Regions from separate parts of the Homo sapiens genome. Here region 1 is linked to region 2. Evidence: promoter capture Hi-C in 16 types of primary human blood cells and fetal thymus (Javierre and others, 2016). All regions are on one chromosome and are shown on one strand. The core of a region is centred on a gene start or on the middle of the fragment in contact, and the rest is flanking DNA. Distances in the headings are between cores, read along the strand shown. Region 1 overlaps CSDE1 (cold shock domain containing E1). Region 2 holds the start of RSBN1 (round spermatid basic protein 1).

Region 1 (7,492 bases), core at 2,409-4,908, 940 kb after region 2:
CTCCTTGATTCTGTAGACTGAAGTTTTATAACTTTGTAAAACTAAAACACATCCCCATCATTTCTTCACAAATCACATTAGCGAAATCAGGTTTTCTTTCAGTTCCTCCGTAATGGATCGTTTGTTCCCAAATAAAAAAACTATAACCTAATGCTTTTAAAATGCCTTCTGTTGGTTAATCTAGTATTCCAATTTGGTGACTAATTTTAAATTATCAGACTCTTTGTAGTTTATCTTTTAATCATTCATTCTCCTACCTTAACACCTGTCTCACAGAGTTGTTGAGATGGTTAAATGAGTTGCTGCACGTAAAAAGCCTAAAATAAGTGCTTACGTAGCACATAGGTACTCACAGAACTACTCATTAGGTCTCTGAAAAAAGCAGGGCGAGGATAGCATCTGGCAGCATACACCTGGAGACTTCTCTAAAATCAGTCTCTTACTAACTGCTATCCATCCAACATTTCTCCATATTGACCATTATGCTATCATGAGCTAGTCTGCCAAGTTATTTATTCACTGGCTCTGGGGTTTTTGCTAGGGATGAAAAGTAAGCTCAATAGTTCCCACATCTGACTGAAAAATCAGGACATTTACAGTTCCTGTCATAGGTCTCTATTTGACTACTATCACACACCTAGCAACTAGCACCCTAGCAACCGCCAAGTAATCCTGTTATTTTCTCACTCATCTGGGGCCTCAGTTTTCTCTTGCTTTGCTATGTTTCAAGTATGAAAATTATTGCATTCAGCAGAAAAAACTAGGAGCGCGACAGGAATTTTCTAGTTTTGCTTTTCTCTTGTCTGTCACCTTTAGACTAACCTGGATCAAATCATTCACCAAACAATTCAGGTCTATTTTCACATCTCAAACAAATGCTTTATAAGCCTTATTCTTTCTTGCCATTTTATGGCTAATTCTACCCTTCTATATATATTTGTTCCTAATTACGTACTATTTTTACTGATTTTACAAAACCCCCCTTTAAAATCTGGGGGTTCCATTGCATTACCAAATCTGTTTTCTTAGCTGTGTGCCCCCTTTAACTGAACTATTTCACAACTGTACAACCACAGCCATGTTTTACTGCCAATAATCTTCATCCCAATTGTGGTTTCTTTGTACATATGTAAACATGTAATTTTTAGACAGCTATGGATGCATTTATATATTAAAATGTTCATGTAGTAAACTAATATTCAGAATACAAAGATTACACTAAACAAAAAGGACTTCGTTAAATCTATTTCTATAAATCATGTCAATGAAATGAAAGCCTTAATATCTAATCTTGCCAGGCACGGTGGCTCATGCCTGTAATCCCAGCACTTTGGGAGGCCGAGGCGGGTGGATCACAAGGTCAGGAATTCAAAACCAGACTGGCCAACACGGTGAAACCCCGTCTCTACTAAAAATACAAAAATAAGCCAGGCATGGTGATGCGCGCCTGTAATTTCAGCTACTCAGGAGACTGAGGCAGAAGAATCACCTGAACCTGGGAGGCAGAGGCTGCAGTGAGCCAAGATCACCCCACTGCACTCCAGCCTTGGCGACAGAGCAAGACTCTGTCTCAGAGAGGAAAAAAAAAAAAATCTAATCTTTTATGCTTCAGAACATAAAATTGTGGTTTCAATTTGTGTTAATCTTCCCTATCTAATCCAACAGAATCCACAACAATTAGTCTAAAATTATTTTTTAAAAATCAGCTAAGGTAAGAAGAAACAAATAGAAAAACTAAATGCTACAATTACCTTAAAATTAAATAACAGTGTCTGTTTATGAGACATAGATAATTTTACTATAGTTTTTAGTTGTTAAGGAATAATTCTAGTGCACAGCAAGGTCACTGACACTATTACATAATCCTTCAATAAATTGGAAATAAAGTCCTAAGCGCTTCTTGAAATAGCAGTGAAGCTTTTGTAACTGAATGACTTATTTTCATTCTTCATTTTATTTGACCTCTGTAGCATCTAAAAAAATGTTTACCATTGACTTCCTGAAATTATCGTTGGTGCTTTTTCCTGACTTCTATGTCTTTGCTCTCTTCATTGGTGCTTCTTCCTTTTATTACCTATACACTGATGACTCCTTTCTGAATTCCTTTATGTCTAACTTTAGAAAATCTGGAAACTAAAGATTAAAAAGGAAAATTGCTCTTCATAAGCCTACCCTCAAAGTTAACCACTGTTCAATATTCCATACTAGTGTATTTCCTTCAACTTCAGATTGCTATCTAATGAACACAATAGATTTCCATAACATATTTTAATATCAGTAAGTTACTACTCTAACTTCCCTATTCCTATGAACAATGAAGGTTTCTAGTTTGCACAACTGGATTTGATAAAGCCATTCTCTCCACATTTATCTTCAGATTCAATTGGTCCCCAAGTCCTCACTTCTAAATCATCAGAACACCTAGCACCTACCTTTTTCTCTACCTACACCTTAGCTTTTATCTTCCTTATACTTGATCCACTGCTTTTGACAGGTCTTCCCATCCTCAGCCTTTCCCTCAAAAGTGTCACCATTTGTCTTTTAAAGGTACACTTCTGAATATTACTTTAAAATGTGAAGCAATAAAGCTATCTTACTTTTGGGGGAAAAACCCTTAAGCCCTTGCTTATAGACATCTGATGGCTCTCCTACGGAATAAAGACAAATGCATTGGGCCAAGCCTCCAGCAAACTTCCCTTTCATAACTCTCCCGCAAAATTATATTCTCTACTCTGTTCATAATGAACAACTTAATATATACCATGTGCTTTCACGTAGCCCTGAATCTGCTAATTCTGTTACCTCTATACCTCTACCAATGTCTCTTCTACCTCTTAACAAGGTACTACTCACCTTCAAATATCCCTTTTCTGTAGGCTTTCTTTACCCTCCTCCTTACCTCCAAGGGAACAGCTTCAGTTATATTCTTAATATTTTATTAGTATCTTTTAGCCTATATTGTGATATTGTGTAACAAATTGTTCTAAATCATTAAGTCCATTAGTATCTTATTCATTCGTTATATTTCAGCACTAGCAATGCCTAACAATACAGTAGGCATGTCAACCATTTACAAATGTGCACTGTATACCGTTCACAAATATGCACTGCAAATGTAGGCATGGATATAAAGTAAGGTTCTTTCCTCAAGAAGCTAACATTGAAGACAGTAGAGAGAAAGAAACAGACGTCAGTAGCAAATATCACCAAAGTTTCACAGACCCTCATAGAAAGACTGCAATGCACATTCTTATTTGAAATCCTAACTTCTAAATAGTACAGACGGAGCTTCTCTAAGAGACCAGCAAGTCGAGAGATCAGCATGTATTAATATAATCTGGTATGAAAAATGTTTGACCATAAATACTGTCCTTATCTAACAAGAGATAGTGTTGATATTTCATACTAGTTGAGAATAGAAAAACTGTCTTCTGAATACCTTTAGAAAAGAACAAATAAAGATTTTATATTTGACCAAATAATCAGGAAATCTAGAATTATGGAACTGATTCTTAATAGGAAATTACAAACCTACCTCGCAGTGATACTCAAATATTGCACTTTCAGTAGTATTTGCTGATTCTTCTTTTTCAGCACACGTTTCAAAGGATGAAAGTTGCTAGTATTAAAAAAAAGAGCGAGAGAAAATGATCTACCAAGCTAATAAAGAATACAACTGCTGCTGTACCGGGCAATCTCACAGTACAGCACTGAAGAAAACAAAGACTACTAGCAGCGTTGGGAAGTGCTCTTTCAAAGCTGTTGAGTAGGCACAAACTTCTTGTTTCAGATCAAGTGTTGTGTCTTCAACTTAAGTGTACTCTTCTTTGGTCTTGTTAGTTGTTACGAGGTTTGTTCCTTGCCTGATCTGAACTTGAAGCAGCAGTTTCAGGTGGTAAAGTCTGTTCTGTTACACTTCATACTAAAGGTAAAAAATGAAGACATTAAGTATAACATACATAAAATAATCAGGGACAGTGGGTGAGAAGAGGGACAAACTCATTTCATTAACTTAGAATCATGGGTCATGCAAGTAATGCAGGAAACTTGGAAGCATGCTCATCTGATGTTATTTGGAGCAATCTCTCAAGTACTAGCAACTACCTCCTTTGGTATCTCATACCCAAGACCTCAAATTATTCCATAGTCTTTATTGACCTCTTCCCCCAAATAAGCTCAGTTACATGGCATAATGTTTAATTTAGTGCAAGTATTTTATAAGGATCTAGCTCTGTGGAAAACATAAAAGAAGTCCCTGCCATGAGAGCATAGACAATCTTGCTGAAAAGACAAGATGTAAACATGGAAAAAAAAAACAGAGTATAGGACAAAAATGCCAAAAATTATTTTGCTCAATTAGTATCTAGGTATCTATTATGTCACAGACTATCTAGAAATATTATTTATTGTTTATCCACAACTGCATGTCCATCAAAGCAACCAAGGCTTTTAAATAAGTGGAATTTGAAGTGAACCTGGAAAATCAGGCAGAATTCTAGGAGAAAGAAAATAGCTGAGTATTCTAGGCATGAAACAGCACATAAGTCAAGCGAGAATATGCCACTAAATTCTTTCTTCAGAGCAGCGACCATGCATTCTATGATTTTCTAAGCCCAGCATCAAGTGAAGTCTTCTGCATGAATGCCTGTGGCAACATGTGTGGCTTGTTGTTTCAGAGGAAAATCAACAGGCTAGCCTGGCTAGAACAGAGAGCTGGGCTGAAGTGAAATAGGATATGTAGTGTGACAGGTGTAGCGGAGCCCGATTATGAAGCATTTCAACGTGATGTAACAGGAAACAGTGCCTTAGTTTTTGATGAAAGTGGTATTAAGTCTTGAAATCCTAAAGGAGATGACTTAGTAAGCAAACAGAAATCTCATTTGCACTGCTGCAGTAAATAGATGAGAAATGTCTATAGAAGAGAAATAAAATTTATTTATCAGTAAAAATCACATTTCTGCTTTATATTAGCTATAAAATAAACAACAATTTTGCACTGACTCCAAAGTTACAAAATGGTGTTAACGAAAATTATTTCTACAGAGATAAGAAAAAGGTGTACGTGCTGAGAAATGGATATTTGAAAACATCAGAAGAATGATTATCAGGTGAGAGGTCAGAGCTGATTAAATAGCTCAGACCAGAAGAGCCTAATCGCAATCACTGGTACTAGTAAATACCATGAACAAGTTATTTAATCTCTCTAAGTTTCACTTTCCTCACATGTAAAATAAAAACTCAATAACAGCTGATCTGGCCATTTTCTATTCTCTAACATCCCATGTTCCTTCAAATATCAAATGTTACATACACTTGTCTGATCTTTCAACTTTATTTAGATCATTCTCCTATTACCCAGACTAGATATATGTCTCAGGGTAATGGTGCTCAAATACTTGGGAAGCTTTAAAAAAAAAAAAACAAAAACAAACCTATGCCCAGCCTCCACTCAGAGTAATACAACTGGTTTGAGGTAGGGCCACTTCTTTAACTATCTTGATTCTTCCCCTCTCCATCACCATACCCAATGTTGCAAGTTGTGTTAGTATTTCCCTCGCTATATCTTTTGTATTCATCTCTTATCCTACTAAGTGACATATTTTAGCTCAGGTGTCTAATATATCCGCCAACTTCCAGTGTGCACACTTTCCATTTTCTGTCACATACCACCACCAGACTATCAAAAACTTGAATTTTGGCCAGGTGAGTTGGCTCACGCCTGTAATCCCAGCACTTTGGGAGGCCTTGGCAGGAGGTCTGCTTGAGCCCAGGAGCTCCAGACCAGCCTGGGCAACGTGGAGAAACCCCATCTCTACTAAAAATACAAAAAATTAGCCAGGCATGGTGGTATACGCCTGGAGCCTCAGCTACTTAGGACTGGGAAGTCAAGGCTGCAGAGAACAAGATAGTGACACAGCACTACAGCCTGGGAGACAGATCAGAACCTTGTCTCAAAAAACAAAACAAAACAAAAACTCTCCAATTTCATTTCTCATCTCCCCTGTCAAACATCTTCAGTTATTTTTCCACCATTCTAGATGGGAAGTTTTTAATCCTGGCTATCCACCCACCCCCAGCAACCTTAAACAAACAAACAAACAAAAACCAACAAAATCAAAGCCTGAGTCCCGTACAAAGATTCTAAATTTAACTACACTAGGTTAGGTGCCAGGCCTTGTTATCTCCCCCCAACCCCTGCTCCAAGTGTTTCTGACTTCCAGCCAGGATTAAGAACTACTATTCCAGGTGTCTCTATTCTACCTTCCATCCTTACTCTCTACTGTGTTCCAGTTCTACCAGAAGTCCATTACCTCGCCTAATCCTTAAACACAACTCTTGGGAGATTCCTGAATTCTAGCCACCTTTGCTTATATGGGTCTTCCCACAAAAAAATACTATGTTGTGATCTTCAAGGTGACAAAAAAGCCTTTCTTGACCATTCCAGCAGACTCATTCATTAATTCCTACTAATGAATGGGGCAGTAACATCCACTGCCTGCACCAAGCAATTTGCAGCAAGTGATACCAAGCAATTTCTGTACTTTGTTTACTTCATGTTTTTATGTATCTTGTTCCTCCAATTCTATTTCAAATTTCTGAGAGGTAAACTCAAATTTCTTTATCACAGCCTCCTTTCGCACCTAATCCAGTGCTGCCATATACAACCAAAGGAAAAAGGTAGTTAATCCTTAATAAGCAAAAGGACGCCACAATTCAAGTGTAAACAGTTATGCCACAATTCAAGTGTAAACAGTTATACCACCTTTAATTATATAGTTTTAATTATCCAATCAAGAAATAATCTCTTCTTTAAAAAATACAGACTGTGTATATTGGTTTTATCTTAATGCTTTAGGTGTATTAATGAACCCAAAGAACTCAACATGGAGAAAACAAGTTATCTTGAAACACTTGAACTGGATTAACCCATTCCAGGTTGTCGTATCACATTAAGAACTGTCAAGTCCAAGATTCAGTAACACAAAAAAAGAGATTTCTGGAACTGAAACTCTGGAGTACTGCAGGGCCATTCTTAGGCACTAATGAGGTCTATTAGGAGCTATTAAAGCTCAAACGAACCCACCAACAGTCATGAATAATTTACTGGCCGAATTAACATCTTCACAGCTTCTATAGTTAACTAAATGTTTTTCAATTAAATTAACACTTACTGAAGAACTTAAAGGTATTGGTCAGGCAGTTTAATATAAATAGCTATCCACTCATGCCCGGATTAACATTAATTGGTGCTACTAACCACCTCTTTTGCCTTAACCCTAGGAACACAAGTGCATCTCCTCCATCCCCCTAAAAGCTTGAAACTTAAGTTGCATGAAACACTGGGTATTGGGCTGGGGTGGTGGCTCTCGCTTGTAATCCCCAGCACTGTGGCAGGCCAAGGTGGGAGGATTGTCTGAGACCAGCCTGGGCAACATGGTGAGATGCTGTCTCTACAAAAAATTTTAGAAATAAAAAATAAATTCACTGGGTG
Region 2 (7,852 bases), core at 3,216-5,715:
ACCAGATACTGGCAAGAATGTGGAGAAAATGGATTTCTCTTACACCGCTGACAGGAATGTAAAATGGTACCGACACTCCAGAAAATACTTTGGCAGTATCTTAAAAAACAAACAAACAAAATAAATATATATAGTCATCCTTGGTATCCATGGAGGATTGGTTCCAGAGCCTCCCAGGGCAACAAAATCCAAGATGATCAAGTCCTTCATATAAAATGGCATAATAATTGCTTATAACCTATGCACATCCTCCCCTATATTTTAAATCATCTCCAGATTATTTATACCTAATACAATGTACATGCTATATAAATAATTGTTATACTGTATTGTTTAGGGAACAGTGACAAGAAAAAAAAAGTCTGCACAAGTCCAGTACAGACAATGTTTTTTTGAAAATATTTTCAATCCCAGGTTGGCTGAATCCATTGATGTGGAACCCATGGATACAGAGGGCTAATTGTATTTACCATACGACCAAAGAAATGAAAAGTTACATGCACACAAAAACCTGAACACCAATTTTCATAGAAGCTCTATCTATAATAGCCAAAAACTAGAAATAATCAAAATGTCCTTTCTTATACGGGAATGATTCAATAGGTGAACCATGGTACATCCATACCATGGAACACTATTCGGCAATGAAAAAGAGGGATGGATCTCAGGGACATCACACTGAGTGAAAAAGGGCAATCTCCAAAGATCACATACTGTATGATTCAACTTATATAATAGTCTCAAAATGACAAAACAGGTTAGTGGCTGCCAGAGGACAGGGACAGTAGAGAGACAGAGGGAGTGCCTAAGGCTGTAAAGGGTTTGTGGTGGTGGAACAGTTCTGTATCTTGATTGTAGTGGTGGTTACACTAATCTACATATGATAAAATAGCATATAACTACATATACATTGTACCAATGTCAATTTCCTGGTGTTGATATTATACAATAGTTATGTAAGATGTAGCCACTGAGGGAAACTGGTAAAAGGTAAGGACTTGACTATGTTTGCAATTTCCTGTGAATCATTAATTATCTAAAAAAAAAAAACAGTTAAAATAGTTTCCAAAAATCTGAGGATAAGCGAAGGAAGGACATAGCTTTGTAAGTAACAAGAATCTGCCCACTCTCCTTATTAATCTTAGAGTTGTTTTAGGGACCATGCATAATAAAATAATAAAGGCCGGTTTTAAGTAAGTGCCTACAATGAGCCAGGCACTGCTGTAAGTACTTTCACACAATGCCCTATTTAATCCACACAAGTTCCTTATAAATGAAATACCACAACCCCATTTTATAGACAGGAAAAGTGCAGTTGAGAGAGGGTAAAGCAATTTGTTCAGGCTCACACAGTAAGTGTTAGAGCCATGATTTAAACTCAGATTAATACCAGAGGCATGCCTCCTGCATACCACTGTAACAATAAAGATGTTCAGAGGACAAAAAAGATATCAGTCAAACTATGTGCAAAAGCCTGGATTAAACAAAGTTAAACCAGTTTATTTTCTGTAGGGTTTTCAAAACTTTTAAAATGCCAGTTTGCCAATTCATGTTACATATGTAGAAGGCTACAGTACACAGTTTTTCTCAAATGTATTTGACCAAAAAATTCTTTTTCACCCAAAATATAGTTTGGGTATATAATCCAACAATCTCTCAGCCAAAAGTTAAAATGTTTAAATGGGCTTATCTTAACCCACTTCTCTTCTTCACATGTTGGCAAACTACAGATATTTAGAGTGGTGTTGTCCAGTGTGGTAGCCACTAGCCATATGTGACTAATTATAAATTAATTAGAATTAAATAAAATCAAAATTTCAGTTCCTCAATCATGCCACATTTCAAGTCTGTTCAGGAACCACATACGGCTACCATATTGGTCAGCACAAATACAGAAAATTTCCATCATCTGAGAAAGTTCTATCAGTCAGCATTAGGTCAGAAGTGTGTTTTTTAAAGAACATGGGGCCTGTGCAATCTTCAGAGAAAGATTGTAAATTATTACACATGTTATTGCCACTATCCCCCATAAAACGGGGCCAGGTCAGAGATCCTCGATGATATAAAGCCACTGTAATGTCAAAGCACAGGGAAAAGGTAAACAAAGGAGTGGAAAAAATGAATAGCAGGAAGAGAAAGCAACATCATGAAGCCTGGAGATGAAGCTTGAAGCAGGATTCAGGAGCCTGGGTTCTACTGCCTGTTATGCCAATATTCACCTTTTTAAAAAATATTTAATTTTTTTGCACTTCATGCGAATTAACTGTGATTTGATTGAACAGGCCTCTTTACTACTTTGGGCCTCAGTTTCCTTTTCTACAATACAAATTTAAGCCAGAGGATCACTAATTCCCTCTAGTTCTGTACAGTTAAAACACACACACACACACACACACACACACACAAGAAATGAGAAAGTAGGGAATAAAAGTAAAAATAAAAAGAGAGCAAGATCATTGCATATTGGTGGTGAAAACTGGCAGTCCTGTCATCTTGCCACAAGTTCTACTCCCAAGATTTGGATGCCACCAAATGAATAAAAATTTAATGCTATTCAATAAATACTTATTGAGCAATTATTTGCAACGAACTACAGTATTCGGAAATAGCACCACCAAAAAAAATGATTAGCCTTAAGACTCAATACGTGGAAAGAATGCAAGACTCACAAAACTTTAGGTTGAAAGATTGTCTCATTAACATGTAATAACCTAACTGGTCCAGTACTAAGAAACAAGTATTTCAAATATTCCTGAGGAAAAACAACTAGTAAATTATATAAAATAATATATAAAGTACAAACATACGGCATAATCAAAAGCATCACATTTCTTCCACAAAGAATATAAATAAATGCTACAGGTACTTGGGAACAGGAAGACATCAGTTCTGGCCAATCTAATTTTTCTAGAATCCACATTTAATTGGATACTCTGACATTTTCTAGTAAAATATTCTTGAGGGCTATTGGAATTAACAGATCCACAAAGTGTGCTAGACAGAATCAAATGCAACTGAAATTCCGGCCTCTACTATCTACTGCACAAATTCCCACTTTTCAGAGGCACTGTTGGTCCTATTTCCTAGTATCAAAGGGTAGAGAAAACCTTCCACATGCCTATTCTAAGAATTTAAATAGCTAATATGAAAACTTTAAAATGATTTTTACCTCTAGATTAAAAAGAACCAAGATAAACTGCGTCTGATATTTTACCTTGCAGAAGCTAAGTCAACCAGTGAGTCGTGTAACCTTTATATGAATTCCCTCCTGAAAGACTGGAACCATACCCCTGACTATTCTGGAGCAAGGGAGAGCAGATAACTAAAGCTCTCCAGCAAGCAAAACAAGGAGAAGGGATTTTAGGAACATGCCTTTTCTTTGGAAAGGCATTTTTTAGTACCCCACCTACTAATCTAACGCGGCGCGGAAACCTTGCAGAATTTGAAAACAAATGCTGAGAGGCTCCGGGGGACCGGTAAAGGGATTAGCAACTGACAGCTCGGCCTCGGAGCGAGAAGCCTCAAGTAGTTAGATCAAACCGTGTCAACGATCTGAAATCCAGGGTCCACCCCAGTGAGCTTAGAGAAGTACAGCAGCAGAAGGTAAGCAGGGGTTTGGCGTCTTTCAGTCCTAAAGATGCGGGATATCGGAACTGAGAGAGACCTAGAACCCAAGCCGGGCAGTTTGCCTGCTCTCACCTCTCTTGGGGGCTTTGATCAGAGGCACCCCTCCAGTCCTCTCGCCGTTTTCCTGCTTGTCCTTGTGCTTGAGATCGGTTCCGCAGGAGCTGGGATCACCATCGGGGCCGCGGTGGTGATGGTGCTTGTGCCGCTCCTTGTGGCCCTTATGCTTGGGCCCGGCCGCGCTCACCGTCAGAGGCGAGAAGGTGAAGAGGGCCGAGGTGCTTGGGGCCGGGAGAGGGGCAGCGACAGCGGGCCCGGCGGGTGCCAGCGAAGGTGGCGGCGGAGGCGGCAGGAGAAGAGGCTCAACAGGGCCTGGGACAGTTGGGGCTGCATTCGTTGGCGGCAGCGGCCCAGGATGTTGGCGGCTGCGACGCCGCCGGTGAGGGGGAGCGAGAGGGGGCTCCTGGCTCGGCCGCCCCCGCTTCTCCTGAGACCCCCCACTGCTAGATCGGCGCTGCCGTTTAACTCCCCGCGGGGAGACCCCAGCATGAGGTTTCTCCTTCCCCTCTTTGTCCGGCTCCTCCTGCGCCGCCACCGCCCGTACTACGCGCACCGCTCCGACCTGCGCAGCCATTTCACCCACAAACACACATTTAAATGGCCCGACCGCCCCCCCGTCCGCGCATCGCGCAAGCGCCGCCCGCGCACTGCCCGCTGGGCATTGGAGTCTCTCCTCCGCCCTCCACTTGTCGGCCGTTCTTCGTCCAGAGATGAACATGCCGGAAGCGGCCGTTCCCAGCTTTTCTCCGCAGGCCTCTCCAACCGAGCTTCTATTGTAAAGCACCCTATGCCGCGCAAAGCGTCATGGGAGCTGTAGTTCCGCCGCGCCCCCGCCGCGTCCCCGGCTCTGAGTGGAGGAGTGGAAAGGGAGCGTGCGCGAAGTCACGCTTCTGGCTGCGACGCAACCGCCGCTGGGCGGTGAGTTGCCGCCAACCGCCCTAACGGCCGAAACAATGTTAATGGCTTTCAGAGTCTGGCGGCGCGTTCCCATTATCATCTTCCTGTGACCCTTCCTCATTTTACACGGAGGAGGTGGTCTCCACAGTGATTTTAAATTTAATATTTCTCTCATAACCTTTGTGAGATAAAAGAATCTTCATCCTTTTAACTTTGACGAGGGATGAAATGAAGGTGAAAAGAGGATTTAGTAATATGTAAAATAAGGGTGGTTTTGCTGTAAAAATATGATAGGGCCGCAATTCAGAAATGTTTTCAAGCATCTGGGGCATTGCTATGGTTACAACTACAGGCCTACGAAGTCAGGTGCGAGAACTGCTTGGAGTCCTGGTGAGGACGGCCCCTCCTCGCCATCCGGCCACATCCCCTCTAATGCCTGGAAATGTCCAGCATTTATTTTGAATATATCCCTACAGTTGCGAAAAATTGTAGATGGAAAACCACGTTTAAGATTTTTTATAAGTTTTTTTTTTTCAAATCTTAAGGATAAGATTGCATAAATTTGAAAAGTGTGCCTACCGGAGAACACACCAAAAATCATCACTGCTCACTACGGATAGTTGTTGCTCAGAAATTCATTTAGAATTTCATCCTCGCTTTAGCTTTTACCTGGGGTTCTTTTAAGTATTTATTTAGAGACGGGCGGGGCGGGGCTCGGTGTCTCAGGCCGGTAATCCCAGAGCTTTGGGAGGCCGAGGCGGGAGGATTGCATGAGGCCAGGAGTTCCAGATCAGCGTTGGTAACATAGTGAGCCTCTGTCCCTACAAAAGTATTTTTTAAATTATCTGGGTGTCGTGACACGCGCCTGTAGTCCCAGGTACTCGTGAGGCTAAGGTGGGAGGAGTGGTCGCACCACTGCACTCTGGCCTGGGTGACAGATCTAGACCCTGACTCTTAAAAAAAAGAGACAAGGTCTCGCTCTGTTGACCAGGCTGGCCTCCAACTCCTGGGCTCAAGGAATGAGTAGCTGGGTCTACAGATGCACTCATGGTGCCCTAAGTAACTCATGGTTACCTAGAATTCTTTTAGTATATTTGTTTATTGATAAAGACATTTGGAAGTAATTGATTACAATGATATATACTCAGCAGATAAAATTACTGTGGTTTGATTTCACTAGTTTCTGGAGAAGTATTACCTAAACACTACTGCAATGAAGTCAGTTTAACAACCAAAAAGTTTATTGAGTGTCTGTTGGATACATTGTACTACAAGAGACAGATAATAATACTTCATTCAATTTGCCCTATTGGACTTCCAAATGAAAAATACTGAAGAACAAATGATGTTTAAACAATACTACATGTTTCTAAAAGTTATAAATAAAGTTATTTAAATAAAAATATTTTTAATGCATTAGGGGAAGTCAGGTGGATTCTTTGTAAAAACAATTACCTGCCAATTTATTTACTACATAAAATTAGAGTTGAACTAGATTTTCTTATGGCAGATCCATATTCATATAGAAATTCATTTTAAACTAGTATTTCTGATTGGTTAGATAAAAATTGCACATGATCTGAAAGATCCTGTATAAACATATACAATTTATATCTTTTGCTACCAAAAGATAGCTATTATATTTCATTGATTACTTTTCTAGAATTGGTAATTTAATGACTTTGGTTAAAACTTATCAGGATTTCAGTTGAATTCCTTGTTACATTCAAATAATTGTCATTATTTGCACATTTTATTCTAATAAATATAATTTCTCATTTTCTTAATATTCCAGTTTTCCACAACATTTGGGAAGATTTACAAGGTATACTCCATTTAGGCAAAAATAACTGTCAGGGAATAGTCATTGTCAAGAGCAGTTTGTATTGCAACCCACAAAGTAAGTTTTTTTTTTAACTTTTTATAGTATATTCTGGCAATGTAGAAATTAGTTGAGATCCAAATCTTACAAACCTTTTGAAGTTTATGTTTATGTAGAAAAGTAAAAGAAAATAAAAATAACTGGCAAAAATGAAAAATAAATCCATTCTAAAAGTGTTTCTCATATAGCATTCTGTACATAAGCTCAAGTGACAAACTTTTATTTGCAGTTTTCAACTCAATGCAAATGATATGAAAATGCAAAACTGGCACTTATTGGCATTTTGCTTTTCTTTTAAAAGCTATTAACACATTAGCATATCTTCATATTTGATATTATGCATATAGAGCACTTATTTTAACTAGCAGTATTCTAGTAGTTTTATTTGCAGGTGTACTTGCAGCCCATATTATTATAAATCTGGAGTTTTATTAAATATTCCAAGTTGGTGGTGGATTCCTTGGTCCTTTGGGTTTTGAAAAACGGTTTGCAAAACCTGGGAACAAAAATAAAGTTGAATGAAAAGAAAGATGTTTTAAGTATAGAAATGAATACTTGGATTTTAGAGTATATTATAATATATGCAAATACATGGTCTTTTTTTAAATGTTAGGCAGCATCTTGACCAGTTTAGTAATAGATTATAAAGGGATTGTAGTAATCTAAAGCTTAAATGATAACAGAATACTAATAACACTTTAAATTTGAAGAGCACTTACAAATTTAATAATGGTAATAATAGAATGTAGGACCCTGGTTATATATAGGCTTTGATAATTTAGTATATAATATCATTTGTCTATGACTTTTTGTCATCCACTCCATCCCATTAAATGAAGTCAGGAAATTTTAATTTCACAAAAATATAGCACCGTTACTTATAACATTATTGTATTACATCTAGTTATACCTCTATGTCGGTCCAGAAATCCTTCAATTTACCAAGAGATTATGTTTGAAAATCTTAGAAAAAATAAACAATCCTGAAAAACTAAGTAGGTAAGTAAACATTATTATTTATCTTTCTTCTTCAAACTTGTTCCCCCTACCCCACCCCAAAGAAGGAGGATGAGAAAATTTTTCACAACTAATGAAGGCTATTTCTGGATGCTTTCAAAAGATGTGCATGTTGATGATGTTGGTTCTTTATCATTTCAGCAACATGTGACTTTATGACTTTTCTTTTTGATGGTAGTGTCTTTTTGTTTGTTTGTTTTTTGTCTGAGACAGAGTCTTGCTCTGTCGCCCAGGCTGGAGTGCAGTGGCGCGATCTCGGCCCACTGCAACCTCCGCCTCCCGGGTTCAAGCGATTCTCCTGCCTCAGCCTCCTGAGTAGCTGGGATTACAGGCGCCAGCCAACATGCCTGGGTAATTTTTGTATTTTTAGTA

What was found. Contacts are between HindIII fragments. The CHiCAGO score rates a contact against its expected background, and 5 or more counts as called.
Region 1: a fragment that was not itself captured here is called in contact with the fragment with the promoter of RSBN1 in region 2 in 1 of 17 cell types (total CD8 T cells); the score reaches 5.4 in total CD8 T cells.

What each region holds. Positions count from the first base shown.
Region 1 is chr1:114,746,286-114,753,777 of GRCh38, forward strand. It overlaps CSDE1 (cold shock domain containing E1), which reads right to left. Exons shown (of 20, transcript NM_001007553.3): 2 at 3,536-3,922. Among named protein-coding and RNA genes, the nearest start is that of CSDE1, 8.0 kb to the right of the region's middle. The HindIII fragment of the contact is 3,487 bases long and covers 1,916-5,402 here.
Region 2 is chr1:113,808,011-113,815,862 of GRCh38, forward strand. It overlaps RSBN1 (round spermatid basic protein 1), which reads right to left and starts at 4,466. Exons shown (of 7, transcript NM_018364.5): 1 at 3,700-4,466. The coding sequence starts at 4,402. It overlaps AP4B1-AS1 (AP4B1 antisense RNA 1), which reads left to right and starts at 4,602. Exons shown (of 5, transcript NR_125965.1): 1 at 4,602-4,815; 2 at 6,377-6,481; 3 at 7,368-7,462. PTPN22 (protein tyrosine phosphatase non-receptor type 22) reads right to left here. Exons shown (of 21, transcript NM_015967.8): 21 at 5,801-6,959. The coding sequence ends at 6,895. RefSeq lists enhancers at 3,277-3,806, 3,531-3,590, 3,741-3,830, 3,807-4,336, 4,211-4,600 and 1 more. The HindIII fragment of the contact is 4,966 bases long and covers 2,164-7,129 here.